Linked DNA regions of Homo sapiens: all the other regions are linked to region 1. Evidence: promoter capture Hi-C in 16 types of primary human blood cells and fetal thymus (Javierre and others, 2016). All regions are on one chromosome and are shown on one strand. The core of a region is centred on a gene start or on the middle of the fragment in contact, and the rest is flanking DNA. Distances in the headings are between cores, read along the strand shown. Region 1 holds the start of DYDC1 (DPY30 domain containing 1). Region 2 overlaps TSPAN14 (tetraspanin 14). Region 3 holds the start of PLAC9 (placenta associated 9).

Region 1 (3,285 bases), core at 190-2,689:
GTTGGCCAGGCTGGTTTTGAATTCCTCACCTCAGGTGATCCGCCCACCTCCGCCTCCCAAAGTGCTAGGATTACAGGCGGTGAGCCACCGCGCCTGGCCAAGGGGATGCCTTTTAAAGCCCACTCAGACCAACTTAGGGTACACTCACCAATGGGGGGAGAGGCTATTTTTCAGTGTTTCCCAGAGCTCCTCTGAGGGTCTGCTTACACAGTTCCTGGACTTGCACTCAGTAGGCAAGGTGATAAGAATAGGGGTTGTCTTTGTTTACTGTATACCGCCCACGCTTGGCACACTGGGAGCTCTGTAAATATTTCTTGACTTATTCATTGAGAGAGTTCTGCCACCTGCCCTCATGCTTCCCTTTGATTTTTCCACGCCCAATCTGGCATTTACTAGCTCAACTAACATCTATTAAGGCCTCTCTTGCCTGGCACTGCCCCGCCCATAAGCTGAAAGAGAGCACAGGAAAGGCTAGCACATGCACAGACGACTAGGCCAGGGAAGACTGCAAGGGTTTGGGCCTGGTGGAGACTGGACGGCTTCCCGGTGGTGGGGCACCCGAATTGGTTCTGAAAGGAACCAAGCAGAGGTCACCAGCAAGAGCAAAGGTGCAGAGTTGTGAAACTGCCAAGCTATTAGCAGCTTGCAGTGACGGTCTTCCAGGGACTCTGGAAGGTCTTCCACCCTTTTCCGATTGGCTGCCCTTCCTGGTTCCTCCTCAAAGCCCGCCACCTCTTTGTCTCTCCCAGAGCATGCCGGGCTGCCAGTCAGGGTCCCTTGCTCTTTTGTGTGCCCCTACTCCTCCAGGTTTCTGTGTAGCAAGTCTCCTCGGCTCACCCACCCCGCGCGCCTCCACATACGCCTTTCCTCGACCCCTCACGAGCACACGCCCGTCCCGCGTGCCCGCTCCTCTCTGCCTCCCGCCCCGATCCTACGCTCCCCCTCCTCCCTGGACCCCGCCCCCTGGAGCGCGCCCGCTTCTCTCTGCCACGCTCCCCTTCTTTCATTCCCTCTCCTCTCTGCCCGTTGCCCCCTCGTGCGCGCTCTCCCTCCTGCACACCGCCTCATCTCTGCCGCAGGCCCGACTCCTGAACGCCCCCTCCTCTCTGGCCCCCTCCCCTGGCGCGCGCCCCCTTCCGCACGACCCCTTCTCTCTGCCGGGCGCCCCGCGCCTGCACGCCCCCTCCTCTCTGCCGCGCCCCCTCTACTCTGCGGCGGGCTCCTACTCCTGCACGCCCCCTCCACTCTGCCGCGCCCCCTCTACTCTGCCGCGCCCCCTCTACTCTGCCGCCTGCTCCTACTCCTGCACGCCCTCTCCTCTCTGCTGCGCGTTCCCCCTTCGCTGCCCACCGCGTGCCCTCTGCTCACCTATCCGCGCGCCCCTTCCGCTTTGCGGCGCCTACACTGGCTCCTGAGGCGCGAGCTCTCGTTGCCTGGCAACGGGACGCCGCTCCTGGGTGGCGAGCAGGCGCGTGTGTAGGGGTGAGCGCACCGGAAAGGCCCGAACTGTTTTTGGGATTTGTTCCCCTAGCTTCGCTGGGTCCGGCGGGCAGAGGCGGTTCTGACCGTTGGGCCTTGGGCGTCGAGCAGGACTCACCTGAGGCGGAGAGAGGCCGCTTCGCGCCTGGGGCTCCCGAAAGCGGCCAGCTGTCCTCCTGCTCCCCCTGAGCGGGGAGCGCTGCGTCTCCTGCGGGCTGCGGGAGACCCTTCCAGACTCCCGGGTGGGAAAACCACACTGAGCGCCCCGGGAGGTTGCCAGATACAATACTGTATCTGGCACCCCTGCCCGGGTGCCCCCGCCCAGTTGGCTGGCTGGCTGGCTAGCTGTCTCCCAGGTGTGGGTAAGGAATCTCCTTCCATCTCTGTGGCACCTTCTTCACGCTGGAGGCAGCTGTTTCTGTGGGAAAGGGCTTTCTTATGTTGAGCCAAGATGCCTATTGGTGTATGTGAAAAATAACATTGCTTACCACAGGAGAGATGGGTATTATCCTCGTTTCACAGACAGGAACATGCTAAGGGAGTTGGCAGGCCTTGCCTGGGTCCCACTGATATGCCCAGAAATCCGAGACAGAGCCTCCCCTGACCTGGCCCCGCTGGTAGGCCAGAAGTTTTCTCTTTAGGGATAATGGTCCCCTTCCTCCCTTCCCACATTTTATCCTTCTGGAGCAGCAACAGGAGTCTGTGCACCTTTTTTTTTTTTTTTTTTTAACTTCACTTCAAATGACTTTGAGATGTCTGTGTAGCGTTTTGGTCTTTCAGGTATATCCTACTGAAGAAATACAGTGAAGATACTGTGTTCCAAAGTCAGTTGTAATAATTCTTTTCTCTGTATGGTTGAGACACCAATATCAACCTCATTTGGAATTAGGTTCATTTGTGCCAGTTTGTTTTCCGTTTTTAGAGTTTTTATGACTATGTTTACATATACACACATACACATTCCTTTCCCCACTGCTGTTGCTAATACAAAAGATGACAGACCATATACAATTTCAGCACCTCGTTTTCTTTATTCTGTGTCTTAGAGATCACTCTCTAGTTTCTTCATTCTCTTGTACATCTGCATAATAATCCATTGTGTTGCTCTTATTAATCCCCAATTTGATGAACATTTAGATGGTGCTTCAGTGTGACTATTGTAAATAATGCTGCAAATAACTGTGTGCATATGCCATTTCATATTTTTGCAACTATATCTTTGAGATAGGATCCAAGAAGCAAGATTGATGAGTCAAAGGGTGAATGCATATGTGATTTTCTAGATGTTGTCAAATTCTCCTCCATAGGAGTTATACCATTTTGCCCTCCCACCACTGTCATATGGCATATGCACATAGTTATGGCATAAAATTTCAGAGACACTGACATCCTGGGGTTCATCCATAGAATAAAAATTGGGGGTTATGGACGGACCCCAGGATGTCACTGTCTCTGAAATTTTATGCAAAATGCTAGATGCATTTGTCCAGGGACAAGTTTAGACACAGTGGCATTCTATCCCCTGTAATTGCCATGCTCATTCCTATATCAGGGCCTTTCCTCATACCTAGAAGACTCTTCTCTTCTTTGTCGTGTTAATTTTACTGTTTTTTTTTTTCAGTAAATGTAAGCTTAGCTCAAATGTCACCCCCAAAGAAGCTTTTTTTTTACTTTCCTGACTTGATCAGCTACTCCTCTTGTCTGGTCTCATAGTACTTATTTTAACTGCAATTTCATATTTATTGATTTAAATATTTATCTTCCTTTCTCATCTATAAGCTCCATGAAGGCAGAGACTGTTTTTGT
Region 2 (3,155 bases), core at 74-2,573, 150 kb before region 1:
GATTTTTAATGGTTTCTGATTTATTTTCTTCTCAAAACCAAAGTGTTCCACATGAAAAGTTCTTAAGGAAGCTGGGCTTTCTGTCAGCACACAGATCAAACAAGAGCCTTGCATTGCACAGGCTGACATGGCCAAGGAGTGGGTTCCTCCCCAGGGGGCTGTGACAGCTATGGTCCAAGCGTCCAGGTGCAGCCACACATGAGAGAGATAAGAGGGATGGGGACCAGATGGAGTAAAGGCCATAGCCTGGAACTGCTTAGACAAACCCCTGGGCACATATTCCAGGGAGGTCACATTCCACTAGATCTGACAAAGCTTCCTCCAGGCAGCCCTGGCTTCTTAAACAGGAAGGGGAAAAGGTCCCAGGGAGGAAGGGGAAAAGGTCCCGGGGAGGAAGGGGATAGGAATAGCGTCAGATGGTGAGTCATGAGCCGGGGGGAAGAAGCTGTGCCTTACGGTATGCAGCGCCTAAGGAGGATTGCAGCTGGTATGGCTATTGGGCAGGATTGGAAAGATCTGGGGCCGAAAGAGGAGGGCCGGGCACGTGGGGGGTGGGTGGCCTCGGGTACAGCTGGACTTGCCTGCCCAATCCCAATGGGAAAGGGCTGGCCCACCAGGCAACCACAAGCCGGCAAAGTGGAACAGACCAGAGGTGGAGTGGCTTGTTCCACGGCCTCCCTGCTGTCTGCCAAGCTGCAGGCAGACAACCCACAGAGAAGGCCTGATGCCCCTGCTAGACTCAGCTCCAGGCAGCACAGGGAGGTGCATGCTCTATCGGGGGCCCGCTGGGGAGGTGCTTACAGCTTTCTGAAGGGAGTCGATGAGGTTTTGCAGATCGATATCGTCCCGGTAGGACTTGATGTTGCTCTCGAAGAACTCCCGGAACCGGTCCCTCACCCAGTCCTGGAACAGGAAGGCCAGCACGGCCACAGCCAGCTCCAGGAAGAAGATGAGCACGATGGTGCCACAGAACTGCAGGGGAAGGGGACGGGAGCAGAAGTCACCACCCCACCAGCCTGCACCCCCACACACATAACCCCACCTGACCCAGAACCACCATCCTCAGCAGAGCGTGGGCTCTGCACCTGAGAGTCCCACATCGGGGCCCCAGAACCCCACACTTAGAGTTAGCTGGGTGACTCTGCACAACTTCGCTTCATCTGTAAAAAGGGGCTATTTATCCCTACCCATGTCACTGCATTGCTGATAACACTCAAATGCGTGAAAAAGTGTGAGAAAGCTCCAAGCCAATGTGTCAATCACTTGCTATGAAGCAGCCCTCCTCCCTGGACAAGGAGGAGACCCCTATCACAGGAATGAATGGCTGTCCTACCCCAGCAGTTCCACCTGGACCCTCCAGGGTGGCATCCTGGGGTGTCGGCTCCTTTAGGACAGACACTGTGCCCAAGACATTATCTGATGACTCCCCACTACACACACAAAACCATCGAGTGCCTACGTATCTGTTACCTCACTTTAGGGATGAGGAAACTATGGCTATGTCACGAGGTACATAGCTTGCCTGAGGTCACATAGTTCATGCAGGACATGTGAGTTCCCTGCAGGGCTCTTTACAATTCTGGAAGTGCCAATGTTATCTGTACCAACTCTGCATGAAAGTATATGATCGTCAGCATAAAGACCCCTCCAGAAGCTCAGCTGCCCCAGGCCACAAGCAGTGGTGGCATTCTGCAAGGGGCCAGTGCAGCCACAGGTCCACATCCCATCAGGGCAGACTCCCAGCCTGCAGTCTGCGCTCTCACAGACATTATCACTGGCCATATAAGACACTAAGCAGCTTGCCACAACCGGCCAATTTGGAGTAATCTTTCAAAGTAAGAAAAAGCATACACACGGCCGGGCGCGGTGGTTCACGCCTGTAATCCCAGCACTTTGGGAGGCCGAGGCGAGAGGATCACAAGGTCAGGAGATGGAGACCATCCTGGCTAACACGGTGAAACCCCGTCTCTACTAAAAATACAAAAAAAAATTAGCCAGGCATGGTAGCGGGCGCCTGTAGTCCCAGCTACTCGGGAGGCTGAGGCAGGAGAATGGTGTGAACCCGGGAGGCGGAGCTTGCAGTTAGCCGAGATCACGCCACTGCACTCCAGCCTGGGCAACAGAGCGAGACTCGGTATCAAAAAAAAAAAAAAGAAAAGAAAAGAAAAAGGAAACACACATATGCACACAAGGCCTGCCAAAACGTAATCTCTGTTCATATAAAAGCAAGATGCTAAACATAGCTTTTCTTTTTTTTTTCCAGAGAAAAAATTAGGACAAAAAGCCCATAGTTTTGCTTTTAAAATTATGTCCAAGAAAAAGAAAGCTTGATCTAATGAAGTCAACAAACAATATACTGCAAAATATGATAATGTGTTTTCCCCACCAGGTGTTATTTAACTGAATAAATCTAAACATGAATTTGTATCTAAATATAAAACTAAACTCTTAGTAATCTGCAGTTCTGCCAGGAAATTTGGGATTCTGACTTGTACATCCAACAGACTCACACATCCTTGGAGGAGGGAAATGATTTAAGGTTACTTGCAACATCTTTTGATCTTAGCCAGGAAGGGCAAAGGACAGTAGCAGACAAACAATTCTTTTAGAATTTCTGAAGGAAGATAAAAGGCAAAGGAGCGGGGAGTAGAGCTGGCCTATAGGCAGCTGGCTCCTCCCACCCAGGGCTAAAAACCAGAGGGTACCTAATTCTCCTGCTGGGAGGAACCAGCTTCTCTAGACAGTAGAGTGCAAATGGCTGCCTCCTGCTCCCAGGCAGGGGCCTAGGGGAGGCTCCTAAGAGCTGCCACCTGCTCTGACCAGGTAACATATAATCCTGCCCAGCAGAGCCTGTACCCCATTGCATCCTATCCCACTCTTGTCTCTGTGGCCACTCACAAAGTTGAGCAAGCAGATATTCTCCCGCAGAGCCCCCACGCAGCCGGCGAACCCCAGGGTGAACATCACCACGCCCACCATCAGGACCAGCACCACAGGGTCGATTCCATGCATCCGGGTCACTTTGGTGAGGTCGGACAGCACACCCTGAAAGAGACAGAGAAAGCAGGGCAGCACTGGCCCAGAAGGGGAGTCAAGGATGCTGCCCTGGGGGATGCAGGTGGTACTGAAAACAGGGACTTGCTTCCCCAGGCTCA
Region 3 (2,992 bases), core at 279-2,778, 220 kb after region 1:
GAAAGAAAGAAAATATACAATGCCTGGATTTCCTTTAAAATAATCCAGGGAGGGGAGAGAGGGTGGAGGCTATAGATGAGATAAAACTGCCCATGAACTGATACTTCTTGAAGCAGCGTTGATAAGTATATTACATGATTCTTTCACATACTATTACTTTGTATTTTTTTGTATCCAAAAGTTTTCATAATCAAAAGTTAAGATATATCATCTAAAATCTGAAAGATTATGCACAAAAATATATGAAATCAGTGTGAAATTACACTAATACATGAATACTTTCCTCCTTTCCTTCTTCTTTTTTTTTTTTTTTTGAAACTGAGTCTTGCTCTGTCACCCAGGCTGGATTGCGGTGGCTTGATCTCGGCTCACTGCAACCTCCGCCTCCCAGGTTCAAGTGATTCTCCTGCCTCAGCCTGCCGAGTAGCTGGGACTACAGGCATGTGCCACCACGCCCGATTAATTTTTTGTATTTTTAATAGAGACAGCATTTCACCATGTTAGCGAGGCTGGTCTTGATCTCCTGAGCTTGTGATCCGCCCGCCTGAGGGGTAGGTGAGGGGAAGAAAGCGGACAGTGAAAAGCAAGGAACCCAGCTAATGGAGTACCCAGACAGCCTCTCTCCTCCGCACAGCTCTCCACCTCCACCCAGTCCCCCATCTCCACCCAACATAGCTCAGTTTCCCAGAGAAGCTCCCTGGAAACCGGGAGGCTGACTTCTTCACTGACTGCAGATCCACCTGAGGCCACCTGGCAGGTGAATCGGTGGCCTTTCTCCTGGGCCCGACTGCCTGGTTCCTTAAGGCTGTGCTGGGCTAGCCTGGGTCACTCATCCTTTGGAGTGTGGCTTCTTATGCAATGTCCTATAAAGCCAGGCCTGAGCCTCCACAGGCCCTCTGAGATGGAGCTGGCCTCCGGGGCTGCCCCACCCAGCAGCTGTGACCTCCCACTCCAGATCCTGGCTCCTTCTCTCTTGCCAGCTCTACTCCGGGCATCGAGCTTCCCTCTCTCTCCTTTTTGGTCTCTCTCAAATCTTTCTCTTTTCTTCAATATCCTCTCTCCCTCCACCCCTTGCCATTTTAATCACTTTTTCTCTTTCCTTCTTCTCTTTTGTCTCTCAAACTCCTTTTTCTTTCTATCTTAGTTCATATCTGTTCAGGGGAAGCCTCTTTCTGTCTCAGCCTCTCCTTTTTCCTTTTCACTGTGTATTCTTCCCTATCTCCTTTATCTCTCCGTTGCTCTACTTCTCTGCCTTTTTCTGAGTCTGTTTCCTCTCAATCTTTCTCTCCATCCCTCCCTCCCTGCATCTGCCTCTCTGTCCATCTCGCTGCTGTGTCCAGCTCTCTCTCCGTCTCTCTCGCTCATTCCTTCCTCGCCATCTGCGGGTCTCCCCGGCTCCAGGTCCCCTGCCGCGCCCTGCGCCCCACTCACCGGCCAAAGAGCCCGCGGCGCGGAGCAGGGCCAGTCCGGTCAGCGCGCAGAGCAGGGGCCGCATGGTGCCGGCCTGGCCGAGCGCAGCGCCGCGTCTGCCCGCAGCCGCCCTTCCCGGATCGCACCCGGCCGGCCCGAGAGGAAATGCACTCAGTTCGAGCCAAAATTCCTGGGCGGCTCCGGACTTTCTGGCTCGAGAGAACCCGCCCCCTCCAGAGGCCCCTCGGCACCCCGTGGGCAGCGCGGAGCCCAGAGACCCCGGGAGCTGAGGCACCGACGTGCCACCTGGGCGCCTCCCGAGGAAGGGGCCGCCCCCCGAGTCCCCGCACCTCCTGGGAGCCCGGGAGGGAAGGCGGGGCGGGGGGCATTGGGTGAGGTCTTGGGCTCAAGGCGACCGAGCCTGGGGTCAGGGGTTTGTTACGAGCCAGTTTCACAGGCGGGCAGACTAAGACTCGGAGGGAAGTGTCTTCCTCGGCATCACTCTCAGCCATAGCACAGGATCTGAACCCCTGTCTCCTGGGAGTTTGGCAGCTTTTCTCTGTCTACCTACGAACAAGAAATTAATTCTAATTACATGGAACAGTGTCTGCCCCTAAGAGGGAGACCCAGAAACTCACTGCTCTGGTAAGGGAGTGATAGAAATATGAAAAGGTAATTTTAAAAAGAAAAGGTAAAATCGTAACTCTCGCAAAGATATGAAATTAGCATATACTAAAGATTTTATTCAATTCATTATTAATGAGGGGATAAGTAAGATGGTACAAGCAGCCCAAAGTTTAGAGCACAGTAGTGGAAACTTCCCCTATGGGACATGCCCATCCAACAAGTGCAACAACAAATTAAGTTTTAGTAAAAACACAAAGCAAAAAAGCTGTAGCTCTAACTTCTCTGCTGCAGAGCCCTGAGTGAGTGTCTCGTCTGGCTGTAAGTGGAACACATTCATCACCAAGCCTGGGAGAATGCCTTTGTCCATCAAGGGTCCCCGTTGGGATTACCTGGAGCTCTTGCAGATCAAGGCTGCCTCTCTGCCTTCTGTGTTCCTGGCTGTGGCTATGCAATTGTCCAAAACAGTTACCACGCTAACCAGTGATCCAGTTCTCACTCCCTCCTCCAGAGCAAGATAGTAGCCTCAGACGGAGAAATTCTGGTTCTGAGCCCGAGAATCTGAGACAGACTCAGATCTAAATCTTTTAAAAGCCTTCAAGGAGATTATGATGCCCACATGAGCTGGCTCAGAAGAAGAATTTATTTCAGGAATGCCAAAAATTTCTCACGCTTGGTGGTAGGACATTCCTTGATAGTTTCGCCAGGTGGGAAAAAAAGTTGTCAAAGAACTGCCCAACTCATAAGGATTCTTGTAGCTTAGAGCCAGTGGGCTACCTTATATTTTGAATTTAAGACTAAGAAAACACACACACACACAAAAACATATACAATACATTATTGTTGCGGTAGAGCATAAAGTAATTAAGTATACAGAGTAAAACATGAAAGTCTTTTCTGTTACGAATTCCCTCCGTCCAATGATTCAGGTCCAGTCCCCTCAACTTGGTAGGCTCTG

Evidence for each region. Contacts are between HindIII fragments. The CHiCAGO score rates a contact against its expected background, and 5 or more counts as called.
Region 2: a contact is called between a fragment that was not itself captured here and the fragment with the promoter of DYDC1 in region 1, in 1 of 17 cell types (fetal thymus). The highest score is 8.2, in fetal thymus.
Region 3: a contact is called between the fragment with the promoter of PLAC9 here and the fragment with the promoter of DYDC1 in region 1, in 9 of 17 cell types (fetal thymus, non-activated CD4 T cells, erythroblasts and 6 more). The highest score is 7.2, in fetal thymus.

What each region holds. Positions count from the first base shown.
Region 1 is chr10:80,354,909-80,358,193 of GRCh38, reverse strand. DYDC1 (DPY30 domain containing 1) reads left to right here and starts at 1,439. Exons shown (of 7, transcript NM_001269053.2): 1 at 1,439-1,482. It overlaps DYDC2 (DPY30 domain containing 2), which reads right to left and starts at 1,413. Exons shown (of 5, transcript NM_032372.6): 1 at 1,369-1,413; 2 at 149-301. The HindIII fragment of the contact is 3,945 bases long and covers 1-3,112 here.
Region 2 is chr10:80,507,118-80,510,272 of GRCh38, reverse strand. TSPAN14 (tetraspanin 14) reads right to left here. Exons shown (of 9, transcript NM_030927.4): 4 at 2,899-3,045; 5 at 802-972. Among named protein-coding and RNA genes, the nearest start is that of TSPAN14-AS1, 27 kb to the left of the region's middle. The HindIII fragment of the contact is 2,011 bases long and covers 318-2,328 here.
Region 3 is chr10:80,131,266-80,134,257 of GRCh38, reverse strand. It overlaps PLAC9 (placenta associated 9), which reads right to left and starts at 1,528. Exons shown (of 4, transcript NM_001012973.3): 1 at 1,432-1,528. The coding sequence starts at 1,495. The HindIII fragment of the contact is 6,415 bases long and covers 1-2,992 here.